Regions from separate parts of the Homo sapiens genome. Here all the other regions are linked to region 1. The links are contacts of gene promoters, found by promoter capture Hi-C in blood cells and fetal thymus (Javierre and others, 2016). All regions are on one chromosome and are shown on one strand. Each heading gives the region's core, a stretch centred on a gene start or on the middle of the fragment in contact. The rest is flanking DNA. Distances are from core to core; before and after follow the strand shown.

What was found. Contacts are between HindIII fragments. The CHiCAGO score rates a contact against its expected background, and 5 or more counts as called.
Region 2: a contact is called between a fragment that was not itself captured here and the fragment with the promoter of SNHG8 in region 1, in 3 of 17 cell types (M2 macrophages, fetal thymus and M0 macrophages). The highest score is 11.8, in M2 macrophages.
Region 3: a fragment that was not itself captured here is called in contact with the fragment with the promoter of SNHG8 in region 1 in 2 of 17 cell types (M2 macrophages and endothelial precursors); the score reaches 6.5 in M2 macrophages.
Region 4: a contact is called between a fragment that was not itself captured here and the fragment with the promoter of SNHG8 in region 1, in 1 of 17 cell types (M2 macrophages). The highest score is 6.3, in M2 macrophages.
Region 5: a contact is called between a fragment that was not itself captured here and the fragment with the promoter of SNHG8 in region 1, in 4 of 17 cell types (megakaryocytes, M0 macrophages, M2 macrophages and 1 more). The highest score is 11.1, in megakaryocytes.

What each region holds. Positions count from the first base shown.
Region 1 is chr4:118,276,639-118,280,691 of GRCh38, reverse strand. SNHG8 (small nucleolar RNA host gene 8) reads right to left here and starts at 1,930. Exons shown (of 3, transcript NR_034011.1): 1 at 1,900-1,930; 2 at 1,261-1,303; 3 at 869-1,068. It overlaps SNORA24 (small nucleolar RNA, H/ACA box 24), which reads right to left and starts at 1,502; the gene lies at 1,372-1,502. It overlaps PRSS12 (serine protease 12), which reads left to right. Exons shown (of 13, transcript NM_003619.4): 13 at 1-654. RefSeq lists a silencer at 2,103-2,152 and an enhancer at 2,223-2,402. The HindIII fragment of the contact is 13,799 bases long and covers 1-4,053 here.
Region 2 is chr4:116,048,257-116,052,309 of GRCh38, reverse strand. No RefSeq gene overlaps it. Among named protein-coding and RNA genes, the nearest start is that of MIR1973, 250 kb to the left of the region's middle. The HindIII fragment of the contact is 7,629 bases long and covers 1-4,053 here.
Region 3 is chr4:116,066,905-116,070,957 of GRCh38, reverse strand. No RefSeq gene overlaps it. Among named protein-coding and RNA genes, the nearest start is that of MIR1973, 230 kb to the left of the region's middle. The HindIII fragment of the contact is 1,535 bases long and covers 1,144-2,678 here.
Region 4 is chr4:116,162,513-116,166,565 of GRCh38, reverse strand. No RefSeq gene overlaps it. Among named protein-coding and RNA genes, the nearest start is that of MIR1973, 140 kb to the left of the region's middle. The HindIII fragment of the contact is 1,791 bases long and covers 873-2,663 here.
Region 5 is chr4:116,185,202-116,189,254 of GRCh38, reverse strand. No RefSeq gene overlaps it. Among named protein-coding and RNA genes, the nearest start is that of MIR1973, 110 kb to the left of the region's middle. The HindIII fragment of the contact is 5,449 bases long and covers 1-4,053 here.

The sequences.
Region 1 (4,053 bases), core at 681-3,180:
GTAATGCTCAAATTTAAAAGGCACACTCAAGATACTTCCATGTCATGGATCCTTCCCCAGGTCCCAGTAGTATAAATATAGGGAAGAGGTTAGCATGAACTTACAAATTGTTTTAAGTAATCCTCTTGAATGCCAGTCATTAAAGGACTTTGCCCTTCTACATCAAATTACATCCTTTTCACAAATCCCCATTTCTGTAATAACTGGTGCAAACCTAAAGGTGCTTTATAGTTTTACTACTTTGCAGATTTGCAATGCTGCATATAATGCAGAAGAGCATTAAAAACTTTTGTAAAAACTCATGATTTTGATAAACTTTTAAAGTAGCGTTTATATGTAAATAGAACTACACATGGCACACACACTTGCACAAGGGCTTCAGAAAAACGTGCAATATAGGTGAGAAAAATGTCTATTGAAACTTTCTCACAGGCTGCCCTTATAATTAAACTAGTGTTGGGGCAAGCAACATCTGTTTCAAGTAGATCAGGGACTAGCAAACCTAAAAGGCAGCAAGCAGCCTGCAGTTTGCTCAATCCTTAAGAATACATGGTTCATACAACATGCTTTTACTATGTCTTAAGTGTGACTTTTGAAAGATACAAGTGTTCTGTGCATATTTGTGTAAATAAATACATAATTTTCCACCTTGTATAACTGCCTTAAATTTTTGTATGGTTTAAAAAGAGTCTGCTGTCTCCCTTGGGGGTAGCCTGGTAATTTTTATATTTTACATTTTTCACAAAGGCTGCAATTACCTTAGAACTGTACTCACACTACTTCCACATGAGCGTGTAACACTAAATAGGAGGTATTATGCTATTAACTACCTTTCCGTCTATTAATCACTCAGTCAAGGAACAATGAGTAGCCACATGAATTAAGCATTTTATTTAATTATCACGGACCACCTTAAATATTACTTTACAAAATTCAGGCCTATATTTAAAATAGGTGTCCTGATAACTTCCAGGATATTATTCGGAACACCCGTTTCCCCAACTACGATAAGTCCATTGCCGGATGCTGAATAAACTTCGCCCATTACCACTTGGATTTCTTGATAGTCTGCAAGAGAAAAAAAGCATTATAAAACTCCGAGCTGTGTACTTACCTCACTGTTTTGAGATCTTATCAGCTAATTCAGTTGGTTGTTAACTCAAACTACAAAAGCCAGCAAAACGGGCCAACTTTAGCTTTCCAACGTCCTGCCGCTAAGGCGTTTCAGATTAACTCAGAAATATCAAAAAAGAAATGTACCTTATGTTTCCATCATCCATCGTAATGTGTTCAGCTCAGCTTCCTAGAAACATTGAACAACGGTTTAGAAATTTTGCCCAATAACCCGGCACCCTCTAGGTTTTTAACAGTGAATGTTACTTGTGCAAGTCAGAATCTGATACCAATTAAATGGTGACAGCTTTGCCAATAAACAAGGATATGCTCTTCCATGGCTAGGAAGGGAGACTGCCACGGCTGACAGGTCCCAAAGATACATGGAGATTCACAATCCAGAATTAACCAGCAACCAAACTGCTACAGGTTATTACTCACCATCTGGCTCAAACTGACGGTTCTCGGGGTGCTAGGGCACAAGAGCGACAGAGTAGACTCAAGATGGCCACATGACACAGACGGCTGAACAGGCTTCACCGGAGTCCCCGAGTGCACGGAACCTTTCCCCGAGGGCCCACGGCCCACGCACGCCGGGGTTCAGGGTCCAGGGCTGCACGTGGACGCCCGGCGACCTAATGAGCACTCAAGTCCGCGCATGCTTGTAAACTTAAGGGTTTCCAAAGCCGCCCCCGACCTACCAATATCCTGACTGCGCTGCCTTTTAGGTAAGGCAGTAAGTTTCGGCCCAATTATCATTTTAACTTACGAAAGACAACTACGTACTTTCACCTAATCCCGACGCTTCCCGAATGTGAAAGGCCGAGGCCTTCGGCACACGCTCTCTTATAGAACTGATGACGCTATTCCGGGGGAAGCGCCGCGAGGGGCGGAGCCTATGCTGTTTCACTCCCCGCCCCGCCTAGCCCCGCCGCGGCTCCACCTGTTCCGTCTACCACCCCCTTCGCGGCTCCTTTCCCCCCTCCCCCGCACATGGTCCACGTCTGAGCGGGTCACCTGGCTCCGGATCCAGACGCATGCGCACATACGAGAGCCAAAAGGTTCTCGCATAGCGAAAGATCCTGACGCTTACCGGTGTAGGTCACGAAAGCGAGGGGGATTTTTTTGGTATTTCCTGTTTAGGATACTTATTTTAGACAATATTAGAAAAAGGGGCCGAACGCGGTGGCTCACGTCTGTGATCCCAGCACTTTGGGAGGCCGAGGCGGGCGGATCACTTGAGGTTAGGAGTTGGAGACCAGCCTGGCTAACATGGCGAAACCCCGTTTCTACTAAAAATACAAAAATTAGCCTGGTGTGGTGGTGAACGCCTGTAGTCCCGGCTACTCGGGAGGTTGAGGTGGGAGAATCTCTTGAGCCCGAGAGGCGGAAGTTATGGTGAGCTGAGATCGCTGGTTAGCATTTTACAAATTACCTAATCACTACTCAAAAACAAGAAAAGTCTGAGAAACTATTATGCCAGAGAAAATGATGCATAATGATTAAATGTAATGTGGTATCCTGGCTGGGATCTCCAGCAGAAAAAGGACATTAATGGAAAACTAGCGAATCTGAACAAAGTGTGGAATTTAGGTAATAGTGCCAATACCGATTTCTTTATTGTGACAGATATACCATGGTATTGTAAGATATTAATGGTAGGGGAAATTGGATGAAGGGGGTGTGGGGACTCCATTTTTGCAAATTTTCTGTAAATGTAAAACAAAGTTTAACTTAAAAAAGCAATTATAACCTTACAGTCTATTATACTTTCATTTTAAGACAAAGTAGTGATTTAGTAGTGGTTTCTATCTACTTTAGTGTGAAATTTGTGGCTGAGATGACAGTATTTCTAAGTTTGACTTGAGATCAAACCCAATGAATTTAGCTGCATTCAAACCAAGGCTTTGAGCCTTTGGATATTCAGGAGAGACAATGTGGTAACAAATAAAAGAATTAAAAATTGGTTGGTAAATGAAGATTGGCTTAAGGATTTTATTTTATGTATTTATTTATTTAGAAACATTCTTGCTCTGTTGCCTAGCCTGGAGTGCAGTGGCATGATCTTGGCTCAGTGCAACCTCCACCTCCTAGGCTCAAGCGAGCCTCCTGCTAGGCGTGTGCCACCACTTGGCTACTTTTTTTTTAAGGTTTTTTTTTTTTGAAAGACAAGCCCTCACTATATTGCCCTCAGGCTGATCTCCTGTGCTCCTGGGCTCAAGTAATCCTCTTTCCTCGGCCTCCCAAAGTGCTAGGATTGCAGGTGCAAGCCACTGCGCCCAGCCTAAGGATTTTAAAGATAGAATGCAAGGTGAACCTGTTAGAACTGATCAAATGATGGCTAGGTAACATTTCAGTTCTGCTTTTGATACATGGAGTGAACAGTTCATTATAGAATATTTATTCTTCAACAATGCTTTTCCCTGCACTATATCTTTTTTCCTTTTGTGGTTTAGTGTTGAAACTGGTAGTCATCAGAAAAATTTAACATAGAATGGCACATCTGTCATATGAATGCTGAGATGAATAGGAGAAAATATAGTGAGGAAATAACCTGTGGACTTATTTCTATCTTAAAACACTTAGCAAATCTAAACTTCCAGTGTATACTAGCAGCGTGATACTTCTGCTGTAAAAATTGGTTTTGCTGCAGTAATAAAAGTATAGTGTATTGCAGTATGATCTAGTGTTAAAAAAAAAGCATAGTGTCCAAAAGAGAGGAGATGGACGTTCCCTCCTATCTATATTAAAATATTCTTGTCAGTTCTGAACATCTTGTTCAGTTGTTAAACATTTACTAGACTCCAGCAAATGTTTATTGAGCAGACATGGCCTTTGCCTCAAGACTTGAGAATATAATTGAGTAACTTACAGTTAGTGCCATTACAATGTTTTCCAAATCATTCAAAGTTCAAAGCAAAGAAATTAGTTCTTATTTTT
Region 2 (4,053 bases), core at 423-2,922, 2.2 Mb after region 1:
CACTATTCTAGCCTCTACTTCTATGAGTTTGATTATTTTAGATTTTTCTCATATAAATGGGATCTTGTAGCATTTGTCATTCTTTTTCCAGTGTATATCACTCAGCATAATGTCTTCCAGATTTATCCGTGTTGTAGCGAGTGGTAGAATTTACTTCTTTGTAAAAACTGAATAATATTCGATTGTATGTATATACCGTATTTTCTTTTTGCATTCATCCATTGATAAACATTCCAGTTGCTTTCATGTTTTCCCTATCGTGAATAATGCTGCAATGAACATGGGAGTGCAGACATCTTTTTGAGATCGTGATTTCAATTTCTTGAATGTATATACAGAAGTGGGATTGCTAGATTATATAATAATTTCATTTATAATTTGGCGGGGAACGTCCATCCTTTTTTTCCATAGTTGTTGCACCAATTTGCATTTCTATCAACAGTATATAAGGGTTCCCTTTTCTCTACATCCACAACAATATTTGTTATCTGGCTAGGTGCAGTGGCTCATGCCTATAATCCCAGCACTTTGGGAGGTTGAGGTGGGCAGATTTCTTGAGTGCAGGAGTTTGAGACCAACCTGAGAAACATGGTAAAACTCTGTCTCTACAAAATAAATAAATAAATAAAAATATTAGCCAGGTGTGGTAGTGCACACCTGTAGTTCCAGGTACTCAGGAGGCTGAGGTGGGGGGATCGTTAGAGCCAGGAGGTCGAGGCTGCAGTGACCTATGATTGTGCCACTGCACACCAGCCTGGGCAACAGAGCAAGACCCTGTCTAAAAAAAACAAAAGTTATCTTTTGTAATTGGTCCCTCATCATACACCATACACAAAAATCAACTTAAAATGAATTAAACAATAATATGTGAAGGATTAATAAAATTCCTAGAAGGAAACACAGGAGAAAATCTTCTTGACATTGGTCTTGACAATGATTTCTTGGATATGACAACAAAAGCATAAACAGCAAAAACAAACACACACAAATGGAGCTATGTCAAACTAAAACATTTTCTACACTTCAAAGGAAAAAATGAACAAAATGGAAATTCACCTATAAAAATGAAGAAAATATTTGTAAATCATATATCTGCTAAGGGGTTAATACCTAAAAAATATAAAGAAGTCCTATAATTCAATAGAATAAAAACAAACATACCAATTTAAAAATAGACTAAATAATTAAATAAACATTTCTCAAAGAAAGACATACAAATGACCAATGAGTTTATGAAAAGGTACTCAATGTCACTCACTATCAGGGAAATGTAAGTCCAAAAACCACAAGGAGTTATCACTTCATAACCAACAGAGATTATTATTGGACCTATATATTTTAAGAGGAAGACTGTATCTGGGCATATGTATACTATAAAGAGTATTAGGTACTATTAATCACCTTTTCTTTCCTGTACCATATGCTATAATTTACTGTAAAGAGCACTACTCTATCATAACAGGACTATCATTTTAATTAGACTCCAGTGTGACTTATGTGGACATTTATGTTTTTCTACACATGGTTACATGTGGTGATGTGAGTGAGAGTTTTAAAAGTGCGTAATTTATATGTATTAAACAAAAAAAATGTAGCGAAAGAAAAAATAAATACTGTAACTTGATTTTTCAAAACTAACTTAAATGCAAACACCAAGTGTGGATTTATTTTGTTAGAACATTGTGGGTGTTTAGGCAGAGGAGGATGTAAAAACAAATTGCTATTTTTTTAATTACAAAAATATTACAAGATCTTAGAAAAAATATGTATGAGAACATAAGAAGAAATAAACCAGTAGTGCTATATATAGAAATTTTAAAAGTAAAGTAACACTATGTTCTAAATTTTGAACATCTTGATAAAATAGGCACATTTCTAAAGAAAAATAGAAATGTCCAAAAATCTGTGAATAAAATATACTTAATAGTTAATAATTGAAAGATATCAAAGAAATACATTAAAACTTCACAATTTAGATTATCTTTAGCATGGATGATTCATAAACATATTACCACACTATCCTTAAGTAAACTATTCCAGGAGTAACATAAAGAATACTCATAATGTATTGAATAAAACTAGCAAAATGTTTATTACAAAGCTGATTAATCAATTATAAAAATTTAAAACAATTCCTGTAAACTACTTATGAATGAATATAGATATAACATTGGTAATTAAAAAAACTATAATGAGGCTACACCACTAAAGTAAAAGTTACCTAAATAATGCAATAATTATTTAGTAGGAGAGAAAGAATACATAATATAAACAAGAGGGCTAAAAGTATTATTAAAATGTAGCATGCACTTATTAGAGTACATGCTGAGACAGGATATATAAATTATAAGAACAGAGGGACTCAAAAAATAAATCTAAGGAGTCTTTATTAAGAATACAAGGAATGCCTCATAACAACATAAAGCTAATATTGTTTTATAATAGATATTTTTATTGGGAATTATTAAGAACAACTTAATCATTTAATTTCTAAAGAACCTCTTATCAATAAAAAATAAGATATCTGCACATCGAATTTTGTAGAAAGTCTGAGAATCTTAGATCACTACAGAAGAAAATGTAATAAAAACATTTGTGATGTAAGTTACCACAAGATAGAAGTCTATGGAACATAAATATTTAAGCAATAGTTTAATAGAAAATATGAATAGGGAATAATTTTATTGAAAAGAATGCAAAAAACACCAAAATATTTCAAAATGTTTTAGCTATATAAAGGAAATTAATGTACTAAAATATTTAAATTAAAACTTGAACAAAGGAAAGATGTGCCATGTTTCTATCTAAAACAATTGACATTTATAAAGGTGCTAATTACCCAAGATAAATGTATATATATAAAAAACTACTATAGAAAATAATTTAACAGACATTTATTAAAGTTTGAATACTAGTTTTATAATTATTATGTTGTCCTTAGTGGTTGGGAAAAACTAAAATTCAATCAGTCGTCAAAAATCAAAACAAAAACATTCTTGACAAAAATGGTAAGCCTGCAATGACTAATGACTTTGTACACATAGAATATTCTAGTAATGTACCCAGGAACTAAAAGTTAATACTTCAAAACTCACTTCAGAAAAAGTTATATTACTAGAGATAAAAAGAGGAAATACATAATGATGCAGTCAATTCTTCAAGAGAACATAAAACTCCCAAATGTGAATGCACCTATAGCCCAGAACTACAGAATACAAGTACCAAAACTCACAGAACTAGAAATAGAAATAAACCAATCAATTATTATGGTTGGAAACTTCAACACTTCTTTCTTATTAACAGAACAAGTGGACAGAAAATCAGTAAGCATAAAGAAGAAACAAACTATGTCATTAAACAATTTGACCTAATTGATAATTGTAAAACACGTCAACATCAGGAGAATATATGTTCTTATTCTTTTTAATTATACATGGACTATTCACTAAAAACAAAAACAAAATCATATGTTGGTCCATACAAAAAACTTAGTGCACTTTAAAAACATGAATCATAAAAAGCATATGTTTAGAACGTGATGGAAATAACCTAGAAATCAGTAGGAGAAAGAAAACGGAAATACTCCAAATATTTTATAATTATACTCGAAAAAAACTAGTAGGTGTAAACCTAATAACATTTAAAAGATATTTATTTCAGAAACTGCAAAACACTGATAGAAGCAATCAAAGAAGATCTAAATAAGTGGAGAGACATGCTGTGTTCATGGGTCAGAAGACTATGAATAACCAAAATGTCAAGTCTACTCAAATAGACATACAGATTTAAGACAATTTCTACTAAAACCTCAGAAAGTTTTTTTAGATATAAATAGGATTTTTCTAAAGCATTTAGGGAAAGACATTAAAAAAAAAACTTGAAAGTAAACAGTTTTGAAAAAATATATAGTGGAAACAATCAATTTACATGAATTGAAGCCATATAGCTATAGTAGTCATCCTATGTGTTATTGGTGAAGAAATAGACCCATAGATTAATAAAATAGCATAGAGAACCCAGAAATAGTGCCACTTCAGTACAGCCAACTGATTT
Region 3 (4,053 bases), core at 662-3,161, 2.2 Mb after region 1:
ATGTAAGTAAGATTATGCAGTATTTGTCCTCCTGTCCTTGGCTTACTTCATTTAACAAAATGTCCTCTAAGTTTATCTATTTTGTTGCAAATAACATGATTTCATTATTTTTGATGGCTGAATAATATAACATTCTGTATATTTATATATACCACATTTTAAAAATTCATTCATCCTTTTATGCACACTTAGGCTGATTCCATATCCTGGCTATTGAGAACAGGGCTGCAATAAACATGGAAATGTAGATATCTCTGTGACATACTGATTTAATTTCCTTTGGATATATCTAGTAGTGTGGTAGCTAGATCATATGGTAGTTCTACTTTTAGTTTTGTGAAGAATTTTCATACTATTGTCCACAATGGTTGTACTACTTTATATTCCCACAAACAGTTTAGAAGAGTTCCTTTTTCTCCATAGCATCACCAGCATTTGCCTGTTTTTTTATGATAGTCATTCAACTAGGGTGTGGTGATGTCTCATTGTGGTTATCATTTGCATTCCCCAGATGACTAGCAATGTTGAGCACTTTTTAAAATGTGCCTGCTGGTCAGCTGTACTTTTTTTTGAGAAAATTATTCAGATATATTTTTAATTTTATATTAGATTATTATTGATTTTGCTATTGTGTTGTCTAGGTTCCTTACATATTCTGAAGATTAACTTATTGTCAGATACTCAGATTTTGAATATTTTCTCTATTCTTTAGATTGTCTCTTCATTGTGGAGCTTTTTAGTTTGATGTAATTTCATTTGCCTATTTTTGCTTTTGTTACCTGTGCTGTTTGAAGTCTTACTCAAAGCAATCATTGTCCCCACCAATGACATGAAGCATTTCTTCAGTGTTTTCTTCTAGTAGTTTCATAATTTTGAGTCTTACCTTTAGATCTATAATGCATTTTGATTTTATTTTATTAAGTGGTGAGAGGGAGAGATCTAGTTTTATTCTTCTGCATGTGGATATCCAGTTTTCCCAGAACCATTTATTAAAAAGACTTTCTTCAATGTATGTTCTTGGCACCTTTGTCAAAAATCAGTTGGTTGTGAATATGTGGACTTATTTCTGGGATGTCTATTCTGTTCTTTTAGACTATGTGTCGATTTTTATATAAATACAAGTTTTTTTGGTTACTATAAGCTTTACAATATATTTTGAAGTAAAGTGTATTACTGTAGCTTTGTAATACACTTTGTAACATAACTTTGTATTGGTAATTATAGCTTTGTAATATATAGTGTGATGCCTCCAATTCTGTTCTTTTTGCTTAATATTGCTTTGACAATTCAATGTATTTTGTGGTTCCATGAAAATTTTAGGATTTTCATTCTAATTCTGTAAAAAATGTCATTGGTATTTTGATATGGATTGTAATAAATGTAGATTCAATGTCTATTGTATAGTATGAACACTTTAACAATATTATATTTTTCAATTTATAAATGTGGCATTTTTTCATTTATTAGTGCCTTCTTCCATTTTTAATCATTTTTTTGTACTTTTTATTGTAGAGATCTTTTACTTCTTTGGTTAAATTTATTACTAGAGGAAGAGGCATGGTAGCTCATGCCTGTAATCCCAGCATTTTGAGAGGCCGATGAGGGAGGATCACTTGAGCCCAGGACTGGATTATCTTTTTGATATGCTGTTGGATTCAGTTAGCTAGTATTGTGTTGAGGATTTTTGCATCTATGTTAATTAGGAACATTGGTCTGTAGTTTTCTTTTTTTGTTATGTACTTTCATGGTTTTGGTATTAGGGTGATACTGGCTTCACAGAATGACATAGGGAGGATTCCCTCTTTCTCTATCTTTTGGAATTGTGTCAATGGGATTGGTACCAATTCCTCTTTGAATGTCCGATAGAATTCAGCAGTGAATCCATCTGGTCCTGGACTTTTTTTTGCTGACAATTTTTAAATTACCATTTTAATATCACTGCTTGTTATTGGTCTGTTCCGCTTCTATTTCTTCCTGGTTTAATCTAGGGGTGTTGTATATTTCCAGGAATCTATCTGTCTCCTCTTGGTTTTCTAGTTTGTCTGCGTAATGGCCTTCATAGAAGGCTTGAATGATCTTTTGTATTTCTGTGGTATCGATTGTAATATTTATCATTTTATTTCTAATTGAGCTTATTTGGATCTTCTCTCTTCTTTTCTTTTCTCTTTTTTTTTTTTTTTTTTTTTTTTGTGGAGGGTAGGGGTGGTGGGTGGAGTCTCACTCTGTTGCCCAGGCTGGAGTGCAGTGGCGCGATCTAGGCTCACTGCAAGCTCCCGCCTTCCGGGTTCACGCCATTCTCCTGCCTCAGCCTCCCGCGTAGCTGCAACTACAGGCTCCGGCCACCATGCCCAGCTAATTTTTTGTATTTTTAATACAGATAAAGTTTCACCGTGTTAGCCAGAATGGTCTCGATCTCCTGGCCTCAGCCTCCCAAAGTGCTGTGTTTACAGTCTCTTCTTTTCTTTTTTTAATCTTGCTAATGATCTATCAATTTTGTTTAACTTTTCAAAGAACCAGCTTTTTGTTTCATTTATCTTTGGTGTTTTTTTGTTTCAATTTCATGTAGTTCTGCTCTGATCTTTGTTGTTTCTTTTCTTCAGTTGAGTTTGGGTTTGATTTGTTTTTATTTCTCTAGTTCCTTGAGGAGGTATGACGTTAGAGTGTCTATTTGTGAAGCTTAGTTTTGCTGGATAGAAAATTCTTGGATGATAATTGTTTTGTTTAAGGAGGCTAAAGATAGGACCCTAATCCTTTCTAGCTTGTAGGGTTTCTGCTGAGAAATCTGCTGTTCATCTGATAGGCTTTCCTTTTTAGGTTATCTGATGCTCTTGTGTTGCAGCTCTTAAAATTATTTCTTTCGTCTTGACTTTAGATAACCTGATGACTATGTGCTAGGTGATTATCTTTTGCAAGGAATTTCTGGGGTGTTTTTGACCTTGTTGTAGTTGGATGTCTAGATCTCTAGCAAGACCAGGGAAGTTTTCCTCAATTATTCCTTCAAATATGTTTTCCAAACTTTTAGATTTCTCTTCTCCCTAAGGAAGGCTAATTATCCTTATATTTGGTCATTTAACACAGTCCCAAACTTCCTGGAAGTTTTGTTCATTGTTTTTAATTTATTTATTTGTCTTTGTTGGATTTGGTTAATTTGAACGCCTTTTCTTCAAGCTCTTAAGTCCTTTCTTCTACTTGTTCAACTCTATTGCTGGGACTTTCCGGTGTATTTTGCATTTCTCTAAATGTACTTTATTTCCAGAAATTGTGATGTTTTTATTCATGCTATTTATTTCTCTGGATACTTTTCCATCCATATCCTCCATCATTTTTTTTAAATTTCTTTAAGTTGGTATTTATGTTTCTCTGGTTCCTCCTTGAGTAGCTTAATAATTGACCTTCTGAATTCTTTTTCTGGAAATGCAGAGATTTCTTCTTGGTTTGGATCCATTGCTGGTGGGCTCGTGTGATCTTTTGGGGGTGTTAAAGTACCTTGCTTTGTCATATTACCAGAATTGTTTTTTTGATTCCTTCTCATTTGGGTAGACTATGTTAGAGGGAAGATCTAGGGCTCAAGGGCTGTTCAGATATTTTTTGTCCCACAGGGTGCTCCCATGATATAGTGCTCTCTCTCTTCTTCTAGAGCTGGGGTTTCTTGCCAAACTTGCCAAACTTCAGTGATTGTTTTTTCTCTCCTGGGTGTCACCATCCAGTGGAGCTACTGGGCTCTGGACTGTTGTTTGTAGTTTTGTTTAGTGTGCTGGTTTTTTGTTGGTTTTCCTCCAACCAGGAGGTAGCACTTTCAAGAGCATCAGCTGCAACAGGGTTGCCTGAATAAGTTTATCAGGCAGTGGGCAGAGCCACAGAGCTCCCAGGAAATTACGTCATTTGTTTTTGGCTGCCAGTGTGGGTAGAGAAAGACCATCACATGGAGGCGGGGTTAGGTGTGTCTGAGCTTGTACTCTACTTGTGTTGGGCTTGCTGTGGCTGCTGTGGGGGATGGGGTGTGGTTCTCAGGTTGATGGAGATATGTCACCTAGCTCCCCCGCAGCCTGATAA
Region 4 (4,053 bases), core at 519-3,018, 2.1 Mb after region 1:
TTCCTGGAATAGAGCTCCCAGAGGGAGGGGAATAGGCTCAAAATAAAGGGATGGGGGGAAAAAAGGAATCCCCAAATAGACCAAAAACAAGTTTTGAAATTGAGGCAGTAATACATAGCCTACCAACCAAACAAAGTCCAAGACCAGACAGATTCACACCTGAATTCTACCAGATGTACAAAGAACTGGTACTATTCCTGCTGAACTATTCCAAAAAATTGAAAAGGAGGCACTCCTCCCTAACTCATTCGATGAGGCCAGCATCATCCTGATACCAAAACCTGGCAGAGACGCAACAAAAAAAGAAAACTCCAGGCCAATATCCTTGATGAACATCAATGCAAAAGTCCTCAACAAATTACTGGCAAACTGAATCCAGCAGCACATCAAAAAGCTTAGTCATCATGATCAAGTAAGCATCATCCCCAGGATACAAGGTTGGTTCAACATCTGCAAATCAATCAATGTGATTCATCACATAAACAGAACTAGAGGCAAAAACCACATGACTATTTCAATAGTTGCAGAAAATTCTTTCGATAAAATTCAACATCCATTCATGTTAAAAACTCTCAATAAACTAGATATTGAAGGAACATACCTCAGAATAATAAAAGCCATTTATGACAAACCCACAGCCAACATCATACTGAAGAGGCAAAAGCTGGAAACATTCCCTTTGAAAATCAGCACAAGGCAAGAAGGCCCTCTCTCACCACTCCTATTTAACATAGGACTGGAAGTCCTGGCCAAGACATTCAGGCAATAGAGAAATAAAGGGCATTTAAATTGGGAGAGAGAAATCAAACTGTTGCTGTTTGCAGACAACATGATCCTATATCTAAAAGCCCCACTGTCTCACCCCCAAAGCTTCTTAAGCTGATAGACAACTTCAGCAAACACTCAGGATACAAAATTAATGTGCAAAAATTCTATCATTCCTACACACAAACAGCAGTCAAGCTAGAGGCAAATCATGAACAACCTCCAATTCACAATTGCCACAAAAATAATAAAATACCTGGGAATACAGCTAACTAATAAGGTAAAATATCTATAAGGAGAATTACAAACCACTGCTCACAGAAATCAGAGATGACACAAACAGATGGAAAAACATTGTGTGACCATGGATAGGAAGAATCAATATCATTCAAGTGGCCATACTGCTCAAAGCAATTTATAAATTCAATGTTATTCTCATTAAACTACCATCGACATTCTTCACAGAGCTAGAAAAACACTATTTTAAAATTCATGTGGAACCAAAAATGAGTCCAAATAGTCAAGGCAACCCTAAGCAAAAAGAACAAAGCTGGAGGCAGCATGCTACCTAACTTCAAGCTACAGGGTTACATTAACCAAAACAGCCTAGTATTGGTACAAGAGCAGACACGTAAACCAGTGGAACAAAATAGAGAACCCGCACACCTACAACCATCTGATCTTTGATAAACCTGACAAAAACAAGCAATGGGGAAAGCATTATTCTCTAATAACGGCACTGGAATAACTGGCTCTTCTATAAATGGTGCTGGAATAACTGGCTAGATATATGCAGAACATTGAAACTGCCCCTCTTCCTTACACCTTATACAAAAATTAACTCCAGATCAATTAAAGACTTAAAAGTAAAACCCTAAACTACCAAAACCCTGGAAGACAACCTAGGCAATACAATTCAGGACATGGGCACAAGAAAAGGTTTCATGACAAACACACCAAAAACAATTGCAACAAAAGTAAAAATTGATAAATGAGATCTGATTAAACAAGAGCTTCCACATAGCAAAAGAAACTATTAACAAAGTAAACAGACAGCCTACAGAATGGGAGAAAATTTTTGCAAACTATGCATCTGACAAAAATCTAGTATCCAGCATCTATGAGGAAATTAAACTAAAGTACAAGAAGAAAGCAAAAAAAAATTTACAGTAGGCAAAAGACATGAACAGACACTTCTTAAAAGACGACATACATGTGGCCAACAGGCATATGAAAAAAAGAACTCAACATCACTGATTTTTAGAGAAATGCAAATAAAAACCACAATTACATATCATCGCACACCAGTCAGACTGACTGTTATTAAAAACTCAAAAAATAACAGATGCTGGTAAGGTTGTGGAGAAAAAAAATGCTAATACACTGTTGGTGGGGGTGCAAATTAGTTCAGCCATTGTAGAAGACAGTGTGGTAATTCCTCAAAGACATAAAGACAGAAATACCATTCGAGCCAGCAATCCCATTACTGGCTATTTCCCCAAAGAAATATAAATTGTTCTATTATTAAGATGCATGCACATGTATGTACATTGCAGCACTATTCACAATAGCAAAGACATGGAATTAACCTACATGTTCATTAATGATAGACTGAATAGAGAAAAATGTGGTTCATTTATACTGTGGAATTCTATGCAGTCATAAAAAGGAATAAGATCATGTCCTTTGAAGGAACATGGGTAGAGCTAGAGGCCATTATCTTTAGCAAACTAATGCAGGAACAGAAAACCAAATACTGGAAGTTCTCACTTATAAGTGGTAGCTAAATGATGAGAACACATGGACACATTGGGGAACAACATCCATTGGGGCATATCGGAGGGTGGAGAGTAGAAGGAGCGAGAAGATTAGGAAGAATAACTAATGGGTACTAAGCTTAACGCCTGGGTGATAAAATAATCTGCACAATAAACCTCCATGACATATGTTTACCTGTTTAACAAACCTGAACATATACCCATGAACTTAAGTTTTTAAAAAATGAACTTACATAATATATGCCCTCAGACTACAGTGCAATTAAACTGGAACTCAGTAACAGAAAGATAGCTGGGAAATACTAAATATTTGGAGATGAAAGGACAGTTTTCTAAATGACACATTGGACAAACAAATCTCGAGAGAAATTGTAAATATTTTGAACTGAATTAAAATGAATATACAATTGATCAAATTTCTGGGATGCAGAAAAACCAGTAATTAAAGGCAAATGTATATAATATTGCATGCATGTATAAAAAACACTTAAAATCAATAATGTTAAGAAAAAGGAAAGAGCAAGTTCAATGCAAATAAAATAGAAGAAAATATGAATATTAAAGCAAAATTAGTGAAATTGAAAAAAAGAATTATAAAGAAATTCAACAAAACCAAAGCTGATTCTTTGAAAATATCAATAAATGTAGTGGACCTCTGGCCATGCAAACCAATAAAAAAGGAGAAGCAGCACATTTTTTAATACTAGAAGCAAAAAGGAGACTTCACTATTGATCTCATGCATATTAAAAAGATAATGAAGGAATGCTAAAGAGGAAAAATCATAGGAAAATATCAACATACACAGAGAAAAGTATTTGATAAAATCCAATACCCATTTATGATCAGAGCTTTCAGCAAACTGAGAAATAAATGGAAATTCCTTAACTCAAAAAAAAATCTCTAAAGACAAAAAGACAGAAAAATACAGCTAACCTCAAATTAAAGGTGAGAAACTAGAAGGTTTTTTCTTATGATTTAGAACAAAGAAAGATCCGTACTCACTACTCTTATTCAACATGATACCAGAAGTCCTAGCTGAGGCAATAAGACCAGAAAATAAAATAAAAGGTATATAGAAGGGAGGAAATAAAAGTATTGTCCTTCTCAGATGTGTCTGTAATTCCAGAAAATCAACAAAAATATTCCCTTATTCTCTGAATCTCTTATTATTTCTCCTGGAACTAATAAGGAATTATAACAAACTTGCAAAATATAAGGTTAATATACAAATCAAAATTCCTTTTTTATAATCTAGCAATGAACAATTGGAATTTGAAGTTAAAATGCAATGTCATTTACAAATGAAATATTTAAGTGTAGATCTAACAGTATCTTTATGAGGACAACTGCAAAACTCTGATAAAATAAATTGGAGATGATCTAAATAAACGAGATATTCTATGTTCCTGGACAGAAAGACTCCATAGTTTTAAGATGTCATTTTTTTCCCGAATTGGTGAATAGATTCAACTCAATATGATTTGAAATTTCAGGAGATTGTTTTGTGGA
Region 5 (4,053 bases), core at 766-3,265, 2.1 Mb after region 1:
TGTGTGTCGATGTGTTTCATCATTGAGCTCCCACTTACAAATGAGAATATGCAGTATTTGGTTTCCTGTTCCTGTGTTACTTTGCTAAGGATAATGTCCTCTAGCTCCATGCATGTTCTTGCAAAAGACATGATCTTGTTTGTTATTATGGATTCATAGTATTCAATGGTGTATATGTACCACATTTTCTTTGATCAGTCTGCCATTTATGGGCATTTATGTTGATTCCATGTCTTTGCTATTGTGAACAGTGATGCAGTGAGCACACACATGCATGTTTCTCTATGATAGAATAATTGATATTCTATGAGAGGGTAATTGATATTCCTTACTGGGTATTACCCAGTAATTGGATAGCTGGCTTGAATGGTAGTTCTGTTTTTAGCTCTTTGAGGAATCACCACATTGCCTTCCACAATGGTTGAGCTAATTTATACTCCCACCAATATTGTATAAATGTTACCTTTCTCTGCAGTCTCACTAACATCTGTTTGTTTGTTTGTTTTGACTTTTCAGTAATAACCATTCTAAATGGTGTGAGATGGCATCTTACTGTGGTTTAGATTTGCATTCCTCTAACAATTATTAATATTGAGCGTTTTTTCATATGCCTGTTGGCCATATGTATGTCTTCTTTTGAAAAGTGTCTGTTGCTTTCATTTGCCCACTTTTTAATTTTTTTTTTCTTGTAAATTGGTTTAAATTCCTTATGGATGCTGCATATTGAACCTTTGTAAAATCTATAGTTTGGAAATATATTCTCCCATCCTGTATGTTGCGTGTTTACTTCATTGATAGTTTCTTTTGCTGTGCAGAAAGGCTTTAGTGTAATTAGATACCATTTGTCAATTTTTGTTTTGTTCAGTCTTCTTCCAGTCTTTTCCCTCTATATTTTCTTGAAATAAAATCATACTAATTATATTTCATATGTTGTTTATTATGTTTATTTTGCATTTTATTTTATTATATAGGCAATATCAGAACTGTAAAAAAAGTGTGTAGTCTTTTTTTCCTTACAAACCAAATACTCACAAAGCCAATACCCAGATCAAGAAAAAGAATATTCACAGAATTCCAGATATCCCTTTGTTTCCCTCCTTCTAGACACTAATCCCCTACAAAAGTAAACACTAGCCAAACTCACTGTGCCGTAAATTAGATTTTCCTCTTTCTGACATTTATATAAACGGAATCACAAATTTTAATTTTGTTTAGTGGTTTCATCCATTCAACATTATGTTTGTGCAGTTTAACCTGGTGGTTGAAAGCAACCATGATGCATTTGTTTTCACTGCAATTTATTCATTCTGTTTTTCACAGACCTTCAGGTTCTTTCCCCTTCTGGGTTATTATGACTAATACTGCTATTGATGGCTTATGTAGGGATTGTCATTGTATACATACATAGAAATAGAAGAGCAGAGTCTGCAGGTTGTAGTGAAATGTATCCAGTATACATTTAATAGTATTCAATTCTATCATTAAAAATAACTAGAACATATATATGAAACAAAAAAGAAACAAAACATATGACAGTTGGATGAATCTAACTATACAGACAAGTAGCTTGTGAGAAAAGTTACACATAAATTATGAAATAAATTTTAGTTGTCAACATAAAAAAGAAGGATGGAAGGACTAAGAAGTCATCGGGATATTCATTAAGTATATGAGGAACTTTGATACCCCAAATTATGCACATAAAACATTAAATATTCATGATACAGTAAATATGCAAGCCACATGAGTCATTCAGTATCACGGAGTTTTTAACCAGCCACCCATTAGTGATGCCCCATCGTCATTCGTTTGTCCTTTGCCATATAGTACCCGTAACTGTTTATCTGGCCAATTCGTAAGGCTCAGCTACAGGCATGCACCTTCCTGAGTGTCTTCAAAAGAACAAGAGTGTTATGGTTACAGGCCCCTCTATCTGCTGACTTCCTTTTTTTATACCTTAACTCTGGTTCTTGTATCCCTGCCATCAGTAGGAAAACCTGATGAAGCAGAAAGAGATAGGATATATGTACATTGCATAAAACAAGACTCAAGTAGCTTGGTCATTCTACTCTGCTTGCATGCTATCCTAAGTGTGTAACCCTACCTTCTTCTCTTTCCCCTTGATTCTTACGGTGTGTTTGCAATAAATTCGATAAACCATGAGATTAATTTATTTCAATTTTCTCAGTGAGTCTGTTCTGTGACTTTAGCAATACACTTGTATCAATTTTTCACACTTCCACAAGGATAGAATGCAATTATATAGGCATTCCAATTAAATTAGTAAGAGGATGAATTTGTGCTCTAAAAAATATTCTCTAAAATGAAAGCAATATCCAAGATGAAGAAATCTAATTTAGAAGGACTATCAAACAACACACCCACAGTTTATATTAAGAAGTTAAATATTCAGACCCAAACTCAATTTAGATTTAATAAGCCTCCCTAAAAAGGTCTTGAAATCTAAAAGAAAAAGCCCAAGTCTAAAGAAGATAACTTTGATATTGTTGGAAACTTTAACAAATGACAAATGACAGAATATAACAGAAAAAAGATAAAATATCAAATGCCCAAGTATGAGGAAATGACCCCAGAAATTATTTTCAATAGAAAGAAACTCAAAGCCAAGGCAGATAGCTTAGACATTATATAATGATGTCTCATCAAAGAATAGGGCAAAAAATTAAGATACAATAGCCCAGCTCGGGAAAACAGAATACATAAATTTGTATTTGCTTCTCCCTTCTCAGTCGCTACCCAGAGGATAACAAAGTGAGCATTATGATCTGCTGATGTTTATTTACAAATCCTAAGAAAGTGCTGGTGACCATTGAACTTTAAATTCAGGAACTAGGAACTACATCAGGTCAAAATTTCTATAAATGAATTAGAGTGTGTAACTAAAACTAGGAAAAAGTAATGAATGGATAGAGCTAATTAGAAAACACTCTATTCAGAGCCACTCTTCTACAGGCTGCAGGCAGTAAACGTTGGTGGCAACTGCACCATGCCATCTCCACTAGTGCACAGAGTGCAGAGCTGTGGGTGCATGGCTGCCTCCACTTAGATTTCAAAAAATGTCCCAGACAGCCTCAGGGCCCAGGCAGAGAGCTGCCACAGGGGCAGGGCCACTTTAGAGAACTCCCACTAGGGAAATGTCTAGTGGAGGTTTGGGAGCAGGTCTACCCTCAAGACCCTCACCTGTGTTAAATTCCAGCCAAGGAGAGCCATAGACTTCGTGTCACCACTGTGCCTGGGACCACTGGAACCACACGTGGGACAGTTGAATATTGGTGTGCCAGAAAGCAGGGAGCAGAGATTTGTGGTGGTACAGGAAAGGGAGGAGAGTGTGGAGGCCAGTAGGGGCCTCAGGTCTCTCTTGATATTTTTCTGTCCCCCAGGCCTTGGAATTCTAGACCTATGATAGAAGTGACAGACCTGATGCTCTCCAAAATGAGTTTGAGGTCATTCCTCCATTGTCTTGATGAATAGCACCTGTCTTCATCCATAGGAAGGACTGCTTGTCCATGCCCTTGGTGTAATCTTGTAAACAGCCTTTCTCATTCTTTGCAACATGGGGAGACTGTGGTTTTTCCAAATCTTTCAATTCTGCTTCCTTTTTATCAATTTCATGTTTACATTTTTTTCTCTCGTCTGGTATTTTATTATAAGTAGTCAAGCGAAGCCAAGCTGCTCCTTCAACATTTTGCTTAGAAATTCTTTTGTCAAATATCCCATTTCACCTCTCACAAGTTTCACCTTCCACAAAACACTAGGACACGAGCACAATTCAGCCTAGTTCTTTGCCACTTTATAACAAGGATTACCTTTCCTCCAGTTTTCAATAACTTGCTCCTTACTTTTTATCTGAGCTTCATCAGAATGGAAATACTGTCCATATTTCTATCAACATTCTATTCACGCTATCTTAGAAAACATCTAAGAAGACTGAGGCTTTCTCTCTAACTTTTCTCTTCTTCTGAGCCCTCACCAGAATTACTCCTAATGCTCCCCCATTTATGGCAATGTGGGCTTTTTCCTAGCATGTACTTC